Linked DNA regions of Homo sapiens: all the other regions are linked to region 1. Evidence: promoter capture Hi-C in human tissues and cell types (Jung and others, 2019). All regions are on one chromosome and are shown on one strand. The core of a region is centred on a gene start or on the middle of the fragment in contact, and the rest is flanking DNA. Distances in the headings are between cores, read along the strand shown.

The links. The method cuts DNA at HindIII sites, captures the fragments that hold promoters and counts their contacts. A contact is called where the count stands out against the background at its distance.
Region 2: a contact is called between a fragment that was not itself captured here and the fragment with the promoter of GGACT in region 1, in 3 of the 25 tissues and cell types used here (dorsolateral prefrontal cortex, lymphoblastoid cells and mesendoderm cells).
Region 3: a fragment that was not itself captured here is called in contact with the fragment with the promoter of GGACT in region 1 in 1 of the 25 tissues and cell types used here (dorsolateral prefrontal cortex).
Region 4: a fragment that was not itself captured here is called in contact with the fragment with the promoter of GGACT in region 1 in 1 of the 25 tissues and cell types used here (mesendoderm cells).
Region 5: a fragment that was not itself captured here is called in contact with the fragment with the promoter of GGACT in region 1 in 3 of the 25 tissues and cell types used here (IMR-90 fibroblasts, lymphoblastoid cells and mesenchymal stem cells).

Annotation. Positions count from the first base shown.
Region 1 is chr13:100,587,271-100,590,175 of GRCh38, reverse strand. GGACT (gamma-glutamylamine cyclotransferase) reads left to right here and starts at 1,387. Exons shown (of 3, transcript NM_001195087.2): 1 at 1,387-1,435. RefSeq lists a silencer at 1,235-1,754. The HindIII fragment of the contact is 6,002 bases long and covers 1-2,905 here.
Region 2 is chr13:99,877,052-99,879,956 of GRCh38, reverse strand. The region is part of intron 7 of CLYBL (citramalyl-CoA lyase); the gene reads right to left. The region is part of intron 1 of CLYBL-AS3 (CLYBL antisense RNA 3); the gene reads left to right. Among named protein-coding and RNA genes, the nearest start is that of CLYBL-AS3, 79 kb to the left of the region's middle. The HindIII fragment of the contact is 6,924 bases long and covers 1-2,905 here.
Region 3 is chr13:99,916,066-99,918,970 of GRCh38, reverse strand. All of the region lies in intron 1 of CLYBL-AS3 (CLYBL antisense RNA 3), which reads left to right. Among named protein-coding and RNA genes, the nearest start is that of CLYBL-AS3, 40 kb to the left of the region's middle. The HindIII fragment of the contact is 5,590 bases long and covers 1-2,905 here.
Region 4 is chr13:99,996,201-99,999,105 of GRCh38, reverse strand. It overlaps LINC00554 (long intergenic non-protein coding RNA 554), which reads left to right and starts at 1,197. Exons shown (of 1, transcript NR_047483.1): 1 at 1,197-2,905. RefSeq lists an enhancer at 641-1,586. The HindIII fragment of the contact is 3,433 bases long and covers 1-2,905 here.
Region 5 is chr13:101,133,275-101,136,179 of GRCh38, reverse strand. All of the region lies in intron 17 of NALCN (sodium leak channel, non-selective), which reads left to right. Among named protein-coding and RNA genes, the nearest start is that of LINC00411, 190 kb to the right of the region's middle. The HindIII fragment of the contact is 3,783 bases long and covers 1-2,905 here.

The DNA.
Region 1 (2,905 bases), core at 138-2,637:
GCTTCAAAAAGTTAAGAATTACTGCTGTCTTTAAAAATATTAATATGAGGCCGGGCGCGGTGGCTCACGCCTGTAATCCCAGCACTTTGGGAGGCCGAGGCAGGCGGATCACGAGGTCAGGAGATCGAGACCATCCTGGCTAAAATGGTGAAACCCCGTCTCTACTAAACATACAAAAAATTAGCCGGGCGTAGTGGCGGGCGCCTGTAGTCCCAGCTACTTGGGAGGCTGAGGCAGGAGAATGGCGTGAACCCGGGAGGCGGAGCTTGCAGTGAACCAGATCCCGCCACTGCACTCCAGCCTAGGCGACAGAGCGAGACTCCGTCTCAAAAAAAAAAAAAAAAAAAAAAAAAATATTAATATGAGCTAGACAAGGTTTTTTAATACATTTCAATTTAATTATGAAGTGTCCAAGACAAGAAAAAACTGTGAAAACCAACGACTTATGTACCTGATGGTTTAGATTTCTTTTGGAATTGTACATCTGTTCAAAATACAATTACATCTGCATTGTTGGAAACGTTTGGATAAAAACCAGTTTATATAAAGGTTTCAATCAGTCCACATCCATGAGAAAGTAGAAAGGGCAGGAAATGATTAAGGGGGATTATTGCTAATCTGATAAACACAGATTTGTGTCTTTCGGAGAGACAGAAGTGTCACTCTCTCCATAGCTGTACCATTCCTACCACCTGGCCCCCAAGTGGCATTGCTTTAACCCATTGTCTCTAGGGAAAATGTTCTCTTTCGATTTTGGTTCTCAGTCCTATAATTTCTGGGGCTTAAATTAGTCCTGGAGCTAGGGAAGAGGTGATGTCATCCTTCCATTGTCTCCTTCGGCCACAGTTTCATTTTAAGAGTATTGGTAAGTAAGTGGGCAGTGTGACTAGATGGCGGTCTGGACTCGGTATCAGGGCTGTGTGCATGCCCAGCTGGGGGGCCTTGGTGGTGTGTGATGTGATAGATACACACATGGTTGGCATCCCCAAGTGTGTCTGCGCTTGGGTTCATTTGTGTGTGCATGTGTGTCCATTTGATGTGGCGTGTCCCCAAGCTTGTGGAGTCGTCTGTGAGTCTGTTTTGTGGGGTGTGGCCCAGGTGTGTCAGGGTCCACCATGCAGTCGGGGCTTGAGCCTGAGTGCCCAGGTGTGTTAGGGTGGATGTGACTTCTGTGGGGCGTCCCCAGGTGTGTGAAGCTGGTTGCGCTGTGTCTGCGGCGGGGCGTCTCCGGCGGGCATCGGCGTGGGTGGGTCTGGCTGTTAGGCGGCCAGTTGTGCGAGCGGCCACGTGTGTGCGAGGGCGCCGCAGGGGCTGGCGGGCCTCGCGTTCCGCCTGCAGGGGGCGCCGCCGGGGGCGGCCTGGGAGCAGAGGCGCGGGCCCGGCCCTGCATTTCCGCCCTGGCCCTGCCCTCCCCGACAGCCCCGGCTGCCGGCAGGTGAGGCGCTGAGCCCGGGCGGGGGTCGGGGCTGCGCCTGCTCCGCCCCCCAGGCGGGGTGTCCTGGCGCCCGCGGGAACCTGGGGCGTCGCTCCCTGCGCGGCGTCCGGGTCGAGGCCGCAGCACTCGGCGTCCCCGCGGGTGAGGGAGGAGGCCTGGGGCGCCGCCGGCCGGCGAGGCCAGCCGGAGGGAGGGGACGGTGGACCCCGAAACGCGTCCTCCATTGCCCCGCGCGGGGGCCACGGGCGCGATTGCCAGAACGGGCAGAGGGCGGTAAAAGCCAGGAACCGCCTCACGCACGGGCGCTGCTTCCCTGTAAAGGAAGCGTGACAGCCCACACGCTGGCTTTCAGAGGACCTCAGCTGAACCGGGCTAACACTTCTCAGAAATTGTTTTTCATTTTAAAGATTTCCTGTTTGTAAGGAGACTAGAAGCTGCAAAAGAAATCTAAAAACGTCTCCTGGCACTTGTGAATTTCTGATCTAAGGTTTCTTTGGAGCCATTAGTGAAACTTCTGAAATTTTGAAGAAATTTACTGCCTTGATTATTAATTATGGTTATCATTGCTGTTTTACTCTGTGGGCCAAGGACAACGCCACAAGCTCAAAAGCAGACTTAAGTGTTTTTTGAACACAGCTTCTTAACTCCACGCTTAGTTGATTTAATATTTAAGTGATAAGAAAATGCAGTCGATTTCTGGCCCTTTTTATTGTTTGGGATGAAGTCTTGCCCTGTTGCCCAGGCTGGAGTGCAGTGGCGCGATCTCGGCTCACTGCAACCTCTGCCTTCCGGGTTCAAGCGATTCTCCTGCCTCAGTCTCCCGGGTAGCTGGGATTACAGGCGCCTGCTATCACGCCCAGCTTATTTTTGTGTTTTTAGTAGAGACAGGGTTTCACCATGTTGGCCAGGCTGGTCTCGAACTCCTGACCCCGTGATCCGCCCGCCTTGGCCTCCCAAAATGTTGGGATTACAGGCATGAGCCACTGCACCCGGGATTTGTGGCCTTTTTTAAAAGCAAGTTATTCGTTTTGCTAAATGTCCCAGGAGAAATGATTAATGAAAAACTAAAGGTGACCTATTTAAAGTGTAGGTCTTACACACACGTAGGTGTCCTTATGTACATTTACCTGTAAGTGAAGACTTTTCCCTGGCCTCATTCAATTTATTGAAATGCTCAGATGAAGAGCACCTGCAGTTTGCCCGTATTTTCCCAAAATGCCTTGTTTTCCTGAAACTATTCCCAGAAGAAGCCAGACTTCCCTGAATAAGCAGACCACTGTGTTCTAGCAGAGATTCGTATTGTAAAAGCTGAGTTTGCAAAGTTAAATTAATTTCTAATTGGTGGATTTTTGTACGGAAATACTTTGGGCTAGTTGATTTTACTAACCAGGCCCTAACTACTACTAGTTAGGAGAGGGTGGTTGTTTGTGGTGATCTGGATAGTAGGTAGCAGTAAGCAGAATAGAAGAG
Region 2 (2,905 bases), core at 189-2,688, 710 kb after region 1:
ATGGCCACCACTACTGTTAGGAGTATGATGATCTCTCCTCTGGTTATTATTACCAGCCCCATGACCACGGCACACATGGTTACTGCTACCACCATTGCTACTGGTATTGCTACTGTTATTGCTGGCCAGAGATTATTTAATTCCACTTATCACAGAATGGCCCAGTGAGAAGCAGACTGTTTGAATTCTAAGTGGGTTTTATGATTTCAGAGTAGTTTTAAGACCTGCAAGAGTTTGAGAAACATCAGTGTTTTTGAAAATACAATGAATAGAAACAGGCTCATGCCTGAAGCTTCCTGTCCCCTCTAAACTCTTATAAATCATAGATTTAGTTGTCTCCTTAAGAAACTAGACTCAGGGATGCTATATATTTGGCAGCGCCTCAGGAGGAAAACAAATAAATTTAGAAAAATTAAAAAACTTAGAATATCAGCAGAGGACAGACGCTAATCAAATGCAGATGATCTGAAGTCCAGAGCTTGGCTTACACGGAGGAGGAGGTACTGAAACGCAGGACACCGTTCTTTCAGCAGATGATGGACCAGAAAAGGAAGAGGTGTAGCAAAGATGATAGCTAGACACATTTGTTCAAAAGGGAGGACATTTCTTGGAATGTGGAAATTGAGTGGATGTAAAATGAATAGACAGCGTTAACATTCTGCTTTTTACAAAGGCAGGATGAAATTATTTAGCTTTAGCTAAATAAATGGAAAGATGGGGCTAGAAAATAGAAAGATTTGTGTGTTGTTCTTGGCAAGACTAATTCAGGACTTTACCAAGAGTTCCAGGAAGTCGGGGGTGCAATGGGGAAGGAGAAGCAGTAGAAGGCTTGGAAGATGGATTTGGCAGGAGCAGGGCAGGAAAGGTCGAGGCGGCTGAACAACAGGGAGGAGAGCTGAGGTGCATGTGTGTGCCAGTTATCTGCATATGTGACCATCCCGAATCATCTACTTGCCCAGGTCTGGGTCTCCACGGACCAGAGCCATGCTTACTTTAAACGCTGATCCGAGAGACCAAGGTAGCCTTCTATTTTTAAAACTTTCCTCGGGGTCTAAACATGTAGATGGCAAGATTTCTCTTTAAAAATATTCAGGCAGAATAATCAGGCAAGAGTAGGCAAGTCTTTGTTTTCGATATCTTTTCACAAGGAAATCTGGAAAAATAAAGCCAAGTATGCTATGTAGAAAGCTATGTATTGAGGTGAAGACAATTGGATTTACAAGTGTATCAAAATCTAAGGGAGTTAACACATTTGCCATCAAATTAGGTTTTGTGCTTAATTTTCTCAATTTTTAAAGTGGCTTTATTGAGGTACGATTTGCATACCATAAAATCCACCCATTGTACGTGCATAAGTCATTGATTTTTTAGTAATTATGTAGAGTTCCGCTACTATCACCTCCATCTCAGATTTCTTTTTGAAACCAGAAATCTTCTTTAAAGATTTTTAAAAATTATTTTTAAAACCAAGACAAATGTGTAACATGCCAAATGTTTAAATGTCTTTATTTAAAAATGTTTGACATCAAATTTAAGCTCCTATTGCCTATGAGAAAAGCAAACAATGAATGCCATTTATAGCAGTTTGTAGCTAAGACCAATAATGCAGGCTTATTCTTTCTTTGGAAAACAGATTTAATGAGTTAACATTAACTAGAAGAGACTGAAAGATTTACTAAAATACTGGTACATTTTTTCAAAGCACAATTGATGAATAACAACTGATGAAATAATTGATGGAAACATCTTCTTTCAATTTTTCTAGAAGGCAGCAGAAGTATGTCATATATACTGTTAAAAGTACATCTAATAAATTTTTTTTTAGCATTGTCAGGAATTTGGAAACCAGTTAGCTAAATAATGTTTACTAAATGTGTTTCGTGTACCTATTTCTGCCCAAGATGCTGCAGGGAGGTGCGTGCTACGGTAGAGAGAATTCTTTATTCCCTAAGGTAGTGGTAAGAAATTGCCTCACTTTTTTTTTGAGGCCCACTGACCTAAAGTGGGGGAAAAAAAAGACAATTATAGAAATGGTTGCTTTGTATTTTTAATAAAATTCAGTATAAAAAGAACTACAAAATTCTGGGCTGGGCGCGGTGGCTTACGCCTGTAATCCCAGCACTTTGGGAGGCGGAGGTGGGCAGATCATGAGGTCAGGAGTTTGAGACCAGCCTGACCAAAATGGTGAAACACCGTCTCTACTAAAAATACAAAAATTAGCCAGGCATGTTGTGCGCCTGTAATCCTAGCTACTCAGGAGGCTGAGGCAGGAGAATCACTTGAACCCGGGAGGCGGAGGTTGCAGGGAGCCGAGATCACGCCATTGCACTCCAGCCTGGCTGGCAGAGCAAGACACTGTCTTAAAAAAAAAAAAAAAAAAAAAAAGAATTACAAAATTCTTTAATTAATACAACCAAAAAATAAATAAATAAAAGAATGCTCTGAAAGTCTCTAATGTAATTAGCTACAGGAAAGAAGGTGAGGGATGGCCTGGGGTGTGGAGATGATGTAGTGAGAAAGAAAAAGATGTAAAGAAAAAGAGGAAATGGAGAATTCAGGGCAAGGAAAATGAGGGTGGAACAGAAAGATACACACACAGACCCATCCATCCTTAGAGGGAGAAATACAGGAAGAGGAAAGAGAGGGAAAGGTGTCCAAGGAACAAAATGATCCTCTCCTGGCCATCACTTCGATCTTGCTGCCATAGGCACTGAACACCATGGGGTGTGTGTGGTCACAGGTGTAACTGAGAGTGTGACTCTGGGGACCTGTCCTTTGATGTCCTTGAGATGACACTGGGCTTTGGAGTAAATATGGCCTCTCTGCCAAAGGCTCCCCAGGCTTGCTCTGGGAGTTTCCAATCTATGTTGGGAGACTGAACGACTGATAACTAATGATGTGAAGT
Region 3 (2,905 bases), core at 192-2,691, 670 kb after region 1:
GAGACAGAGTTTTGCCATGTTGGCCAGGCTGGTCTTGAACTCCTGACCTCAGGTGATCTGCCCACCTCTGCCTCCCAAAGTGCTGAGATTACAGGCTTGAGCCACCATGTCCAGCTGGTTTGTCATATTTGTGTTTGAATTTGGCTCTACGTGGATTCTGCGTAAGATTTAAGTGTCTTAGTTGGAAAAAGCCTCTGCATAAATGTGCACTGAGGAATATTTGTAACAAAGCTGGGAGCCAAGTAGGGAACTGGCATAGAGATTCTTCTAGACACATAGGCAAAGGATAGCTACCACAGAAAACGGGCAGATATGTGGGATTAGAGTGAGAGGGGTAATTTAGGCGATGAAATGAGCTGGTCTCTTGTACCACTATATGGCAGGTGAGGCAGATCCCCAAGATGAGGGTAGCGGTGCTTCTAGGAAGGGGAGACCACCACACCCCTGCCCTTTCTTGACAAAGTATACCAAGTGCAGATTACACTAGAGGGAGCCAGGCCGATGCCAAGCTTCCCGCTGGATGATGAAGGCCGTGGAGATGAGGAAGAGACACAGAGAACGAAGATGCCAGAGGGGTTAGAAGTGAGGAGTTTACTGTAGTGGGGCACACAGAGAAAATAATATTTGATGGCAACTGGGCGGCTCTTGGCAAGAGATGACCAGCTTGGAAGTCCCTGCCATTCCTGACCCAAGGGCTGTAGGGATCAGCAGCTCAGGCACACACCTGTAACCCATCCTGCACACTGACTGGGAAGTTCTGGTCTAGTCAACGTCAGAAATACATAGTGAAAAGCCAGGGTCGTGGAGCCCTTTGAGAATCTGATGGAAGTTATGGGCCTTCTCCCCAGAAAGCCCACAAATGTGACACACACATACAATTGTGCTCACTGTTTCAAGGGATTTATGAAAATGCTCATCTACTTCTTTAATTTATTTTTATTTTGAGACAGAGTCTCACTCTGTCACTCAGGCTGGAGTGCAGTGGTGTAATCTTGGCTCACTGCAACCTCCACCTCCCAGGTTCAAGTGATTCTCATGCCTCAGCCTCCCGAGTAGCTAGGATTGCAGGTACACACCTGCAATGCCATCATGCCTGGCTAATTTTTATATTTTTAGTAGAGATGGAGTTTCACCATGTTGACCAGGCTGGTCTTGAACCCCTGGCCTTAAGTGACCTGCCCGCTTCAGCCTCCCAAAGTGCTGGGATTACAGATATGAGCCACTATGCCTGGCCAAAATGCTCATCTAATTTTGGATCTTATGATAAGAACCTTGGTTGGAGATTATTAAAGAAAGGGTGTTGATGAAGAAATGAAGGCCAATTCACTTGAATAAATTCAGCAACTAGGATTTAAAAAGTCCATCTAAAGAAGGAGAGAATCACAGACTCTTAGGGCATTCAAAGGCTCCATAAACCTCTGGCTTTGGAAGTGGTTCAAATGCTAGGGATACCAAGCAGAAAATATCCAGGTCAGGTCATTAGATCCAAACAATCGAGCACATTGCAATGGTTGAGCAGATCGCTCGGCTCCGTGTTGGCTACTTTTTAAAGGTCCTGATGTTAACTTGGTCAGGATAATAATTTGGTAAATAGTCAATGGCACAAGTTTTATTTCTGTATCCCTCCTTCCAAACATTTTTCCCCGGGAGGGACCCTTCTCTAGTTTTCTCGGTATGCATGGCGGAATGGGGAGCGTGTGGTGAGGTGTGCTCTTGCACGGACTTCCAAGATTGACAGTGGCTGCCTGGGTACCTATTGTCTCAAGGACTCTGCCACCCAGTGCATAATCAGTTCTAAGCCACTCATCTTCACTTGCCCATATGCCCCCTGGAAGCACCCGTATTGCTGAAATGACATGTATCGAAAACAACGAGACAGTCAGGGCTCAACGCCTTACCAACTATTTGTGAACCAAAATAATAACCAGATCTCAAAAGACTAAATGGTGGGCGAGGGATGGAGCGTCAGTACTACCTTAGAAAATATGTGACTTGTGTTAGTTGAATCTCAGGTCTGACATCATGTGAAAGTGCTTTCTTTGCAAAATACAGCCTGGGGGGAAATTTTGCCAGTGTCTTGCTCTGGTGAGTTAATATGCATTTAACCAGTTTTATAACAGATTATTTACCAACGGGAACAGAATGCTTTGGCACGGGATGCCTTTGAGAGAGCTATTCTATTGCTCTGGCTAATTCCATATTTCAAAATAATTTCCACATACTCCTGGTGGATGTAGGTTCTCTCAAACTCTTCCCTCTACTGGTGAAATGGGAGAACTGGCAAGTAGGTGAGATTATGTTGCCCTCTGGTGTCTGCCAACCCAAAAGAAAGAACTAGAACTTAGGAAGGCGATGAGATGTAGAAGGAAGGTAGAAGGTGCTCCCCATCGGGAGAAAGATAAAGATGGAGAGGTTGGGGGATGAAGAGGGAGGAAGGGAATGAGCTTGGTGTCCTCTGCCCGTTGGACCTTCTTCTCTTGGGTGAGTGACAGGATTCCAACTACTCTTCCTGTCTGAGGAGGAAAGTGACACCTCCAGGGCTATTTGCCTGATGAGTCTGGGGCCTCTGTGATTTGTGATGGAGAAGTAGGCTCATCGGGGGGGTGGGACCTGGCCATTCTCTGCAGGGAACCGCTGGGGAAATGAGCTGGGTGATGGCCACCCATAGTCCCATCCTTCAGGTTTGGCTGAATAGGAGAATGTCCCTGGGACTGGGAGTGGGAGGGAAATAGCCCTTGTCCTTGGGGGAAACTCTTGGCAGTTATGACATTATTAAAAGTACAGGGATGGTGAAGGGGAATTCGCTGGTTGTCCACTGCAGGGGTCTTCACACCTGGTAGCAGTGGCCATTTTAGACTGTGGCCCTTTGGAGCTCTCTCAAGAACATCATGCCAGGAGGGCAGCC
Region 4 (2,905 bases), core at 254-2,753, 590 kb after region 1:
TCTTACTGTCTTTTTTTGCCAGAAGCAGCACTAACCCTCATTCTAACAAGGAGGGAGGGATGTCATAGCAATGTCACAGCAGCAGACACTTTGAAGGAGAAAGACCAGAAAGGAAAAATGGAGAAAGGATAGGAGGCTGAAAGGAAAAGACAGAAAAACAACTCCAGGGCTGGGCACGGTGGCTCACGCCAGTAATCCCAGCATTTTGGGAGGCTGAGGCAGGTGGATCACCTGAGGTGAGGAGTTCTAGACCAGCCTGGCCAACATGGTGAAACCGTCTCTCTTCTAAAAATACAAAAGTTAGCCAGGTGTGGTGTCGGGTGCCTGTAGTTCCAACAACTCGGGAGGCTGAGGCAGGAGAATCATTTAAACCAGGGAGGCAGAGGTTGCGGTGAGCCGAGATTGAGCCACTATATACACTCCAGTCTGGGCGACAGAGTGAGACCTCCGTCTCAAAAAATAAAAATAAAAAATAAGAAAAGGAACTCCAAAATACTGAGTTGAGTATAGACGCTCTAGTATAGAAACTGCAGACCACTGGACCGTCTCTCACGAACTGGTCAAACTCCTCCTGGGCTTTCCTAGACAGGGGTGGGGACAGACTCACAGGGCTGAGCTGAGGACAGAGCCCCACCAGGCGCTGTCAGGGCGGTTTCCCGACCACACGTCCCTGTCCAAAAACAACCGCACAGCAAATGTGGCTATGCCAAGTCCTTCAGGTATCAGTTAAATCTCCTCCTCTTCTGTATGAATTTGTATTATTTATAAGACACTTGACACACGTTTAAACACTTACATTACTCCTGCGACTCAGGAAATAGAGCTTGTTCAGCTGAGGGAAAAAAAGCATGTAATGAGGGAGTTAACAAGGACTGATATTTTTTTACAACATTCTTTAAAAACTGAAAAACCTCTTTAAACACCAGGAACAGCTTAAATAATTCACTGTAGGCCTAAGGGGCCCCTGTGGACGTTTCCCCCGCGGGTCCCTTTCTGGCCTCGGCCTCCCCGACTGTCATCCGCCAAGGTGGGCCCGGAGGGCGACGGGCTCCAGGCCTCGGTCTCAGCGGTCCTCCGGCTTCCGGGACCCACAGGGGCCCTGGGCTGGGTGGGGGCCAGCCGGACCTGGGGAGGCCGGACCCCGGAAGTGGGTAGAGGCGGGCCGTGCCTTTTGACCCCTGGGTGCGCGGAAAGTCGGTAGCAGGCGGAAGTGCGGCCCTCGAGGCGGTCGCGGCCTGTCGGGGCTTGGAGCGAATGGCTCCAAGGCCGCAGGCTGGGCCTGGGCCGCAGCCGTGGGAAGCCGACGATGCCTGAGGCGCTCTGTCCTCGGCCCACCCTAGGAACTTGTATGACCGCAGGAAAGGATCAGGAGAGGCCGCTGCCCGTCTCCCACCGGCTCTAGGCTCCCTCGGCCGACCGATGTGGGGAAGGGGAAGGGGCCCGCGCCGAGGCTCTAGGGGAGGCTCCTAGGCCGGGTTCTCTGACTTAAGGCCCTCTTGGCTGTGGTTTTGCGGGAGTGAGTTGAGGGAGCTGCATTCACTCAAGTCCCTCACATGCCCGAGGGCCCGGGAATCGTGAAGCCGGGCCTGCGGACCCGGTGGGAGGAAGGAGTGCGAAGCGCGGCCGCCGTGCTCGGCCGGCGCCGGGCTAGGTCGGGCGGTGGGGACCGCGCCGGCATAGGACAACGCGGTGGAGGGAAGCACCTGCCCCCGCCCACCTTGACTCAGGGCCGCCGCGCCCCTCCTGGGCCATCCGCGCGGGGGTCTCAGGATGGCGAAACCCGGGACCTCGCGGCCCTCTAGTGCTCCCCTGCCAGGGTGCGACCTAGGTACCCTTTATCGAGCCCCACTCCCCAAGGCAGAGAGAGTTCGACGTTCCCAAGGAGGGAGTCTCCATGGAGGAATTCGTCCTGCTTCACTTCCAGAGTTGAAAGCCCGTCGGTTCTGCAAAGAGGAGCAGTCGGGCGCGGGCTAGCAAGCAGCTGATGAAAATAATTGTCCTCGCACACACAGCCCTGCGCCCAGGGGCGCGCGCGCGCACACACACACACACACACACACACACACACACACACACAACTTGCCTCCTCTAGCCGCCCAACCTTAATATTCCGGGCATGCAGTTTTCAACAACTTGCCTGACACAATAACAAAGACATTTAAATGCCAGGACGCAGACTTCACTTTTTAACCTGCTGAGAGGAGCTACTTTCAAAGCTTCCCCACCGCGAATAAACTGACAAAAAATATGGGGTGCACTTATAAATTAAACACCTTACCCTCAAAGCAATATACGTTAATCAGGTTTCTAAGGCAATAGCCATCTCTGTCTTTTCCTATTCACCCAAATAATGCCCCCAGAAGGAACCCCTTTACACAAGAGAGAACTGGAAAAAAAATGAATTATACCCATTGCTAGTAAAAAATCATCTTAAATCAATAGAGCACCACTTGAACTTGAGTTTCTATTGTTTCACTGAATCATCAATGTTTTTAATTAAACAGAGCTACCCTTTCTGTTAAAACATTACATAAAAGGGTTAGGTTTCTACTTTTGTTGAGGCAGCTGGCGTTTGTTGGCTGTTGTGTTTGAGCAACAGACTGTTCAATGGAAGCGAGAAATAGCTCAACGCGCTCTTAATAGACCTGTTTCAACAATGTATCTTGAAAAGGAATACATTGTGTTATTGTGTTAGTTTGCTACAAACCTATTAAAAGAAAAATAGCATCCATCAGGTCTAACAAGACGCATTTGTATTATACGTACTTATCTGCTTCAAATACACTTCTTGGCACAATGTCTAGAATTCAACTAGATCATCAGGAGCTGGGCAGAAGAACGCATACCAGTTAGGTAATGATACACGGGCTAAAAATAATAATAAAGGAAGGACTAAGCAGACGGT
Region 5 (2,905 bases), core at 296-2,795, 550 kb before region 1:
AATCATTTTTGAGGACCATTATATGCAAACAGTTTGCTGGGCCCTGAGTAAACAAACACATCTTTCTATATTCAACTAACATTAGAGTAGGAATTCCCTCTCAATGATTATTTTTGCAGAATATTTAATTGTGTAACCATTTTTAGGTTGGAACTATGTATCAGCTGTTTGTATTCCTTAGTAAATGCGCATTGAGAGTCAAAAGTAAATCAGTCTAGGATTAAGAATTTTTTATAGGTAATTTAAAAGATTTTTAATCGCATTTTCTGTATCATGCACAAAAGAGGTATCAAGGAGTTAAGGCCGCTGCTAAATCTATCTTGGAAATTTACATTTTGCTCTTCTTTTTAAACTTTTTCCTCTTCTGACTACAGTTTTACTTATAAATTGTCTCTTCTATCAAGTGTCATGCTAGTCTCAGTGTGTTGTATTTGTTGCTGATGATGGTGTTGAGTCCAAGTCCTGCTTCCTTGTGTTGCCACAGACCTTAAATTTCGAATTTCTACACCCATAATCCCAGCACTTTGGGAGGCCAAGGCTGGCGGATCACCTGAGCTCAGGAGTTCGAGACCATCCTGGGCAACATGGTGAAACCCCATCTCTACTAAAAAAAAGTAGCTGAGCATGGTGGCACACAACTATAGTCCCAGCTACTCGGGAGGCTGAGGCATGAGAATTGCTTGAGCCCAGGGGGCGGAGGTTGCAGTGAGCCAAGATCATGCCACTGCACTCCAGCTTGGGCGATACAGCGAGACTCCGTCTCAAAACAAAAAAAAATTTTGGAATTTCTAAATTCACAAACAGGTTAAAAGCATCTGACATTTACTCTAGAATCACAAGCCCACTCACCTTCTTTTGTCTCTGCAGATTTCCAATCTTTGCCTTCCTGTTTATATTAGATATAATCATAAAGTCATTTTGTATTTTACTTTTGTAATTAAAATCTATCTAGCGTATATTTATAGTTTTGTTTGTTTGTTTGTTTGAGACGGAGTCTCGCTCTGTCACCCAGCCTGGGGTGCAGCGGCACGATCTCGGCTCACTGCAAGCTCCGCCTCCCGGGTTCACGCCATTCTCCTGCCTCAGCCTCCTGAGTAGCTGGGACTACAGGCGCCCGCAACCACGCCCGGCTAATTTTTTTGTATTTTTAGTAGAGACAGGGTTTCACCGTGTTAGCCAGGATGGTCTCGATTTCCTGACCTCGTGATCCACCCGCCTCGGCCTCCCAAAGTGCTGGGACTACAGGCGTGAGTCTCCGCACCCGGGCATTTATAGTTTCTTATCATTAAGTACTGTATATTAAACCTATCTAAATTTGTTTCAGTACTCGAAGATATTGCTTTTCCCTCGATTTTTGCACAGTTTCATTATTTGATGTGTAAGATGTTGGAGATTTGACCAAGTGACCCCAGGCTACTGTGTTAGTGGCCGAAACATTGTCATAACATTCACGTGCAAAAAAAAATCAGATCCATTAAGTTTTAAATTGTTTAGTTTCTAATATTACAAGCTGTTCCTATATATCAAGTTAGTTGATTCATTTCAAAATAAGCAGTCCCTCTTTGTAATTTTTACGTCATTCATATTTCTTATTTTCAAGGACTAACTACATTAAAATATATAAGATAGAAAAAGTAATACTTTAATATTATGAAATTAATTCAATTTTCAAATATATTTCAAGCACCAACAATGCACAGTGCTAGACAATGAAAGAAAATGTAATAAACAAAGAATACATTATACATATCCTAAGGAGTTTACAATCTATTGGAATTTACAGAAAGATAAAAAGATGTTTCACACAGGGCAGGGATCAACTTGTGCTGGGTGCCTAGGAGTCCAAAGGAAGAGCGAAGATTTGGTGTATGCATGGCATGCACACACGTGCACATGCATGTTTATATGAATATTTTAACTCCTACACATAGTGTTTTTACAGGGTTCAGAACACATGATATTGAAATAAGTTACAATAGGAAATCTTTTTTTTTGTTTGTTTGTTTTTTTGAGACAGAGTCTCGCTCTGTGGCCCATGCTGGAGTGCAGTGGCGCGATCTCAGCTCACTGCAAGCTCTGCCTCCCAGGTTCACGCCATTCTCCTGCCTCAGCCTCCCGAGCAGCTGGGACTACAGGCGCCCGCCACCATGCCCGGCTTATTTTTTCTATTTTTTAGTAGAGACGGGGTTTCACCATGTTAGCCAGGATGGTCTCGATCTCCTGACCTCGTGATCCACCCACCTCGGCCTCCCAAAGTGCTGGGATTACAGGCGTGAGCCACCGCACCTGGCCTACAATAAGAAATCTTGACCCATCATCTAAAATTCTCTTCACAAAATTCACATTTTAAGATACTGTTCAAAGCTTCATAACATGATATTATAATGGTATTCACCTTTATATACATCCATAATCAACATTTTAATCTTGCTGATGCTCACATTAATCACCTTTTAAAATTTTTTTTCTAAGCATAATGTCAATTCCAGAGAAAGTTTATTTTATAGAAACATCTTGCCACACACATGATCTGTCGTATGCACTTTGGGATTAATTATGAATTCACGGGTGCATGAAAATTCAAATACAGTCAAATGAGATACCACCTTCGACCCATGCAATTTTAAGTAATTGCTTATTCCCAATTACTATATTTTATTTGGGAGACTTATTCAATAAAGTGGCTCGTTACAATAATTACACTACAACTTTCTAGCAGAAATGACATTCATCAAGCCATATTCATTGGACCGTGGTTTTGTGTCTTATGGTCATATGTTTTTATAACCACTTTCCCATTTATTATTAACCTGTTAATATTTGTAAAGTGAGAAAAGAAAAATGGAGCCACTCAAACTTTTTCCCAGTTAGAAACAGAAATGTATTGTTAACATTGTAAATCAAA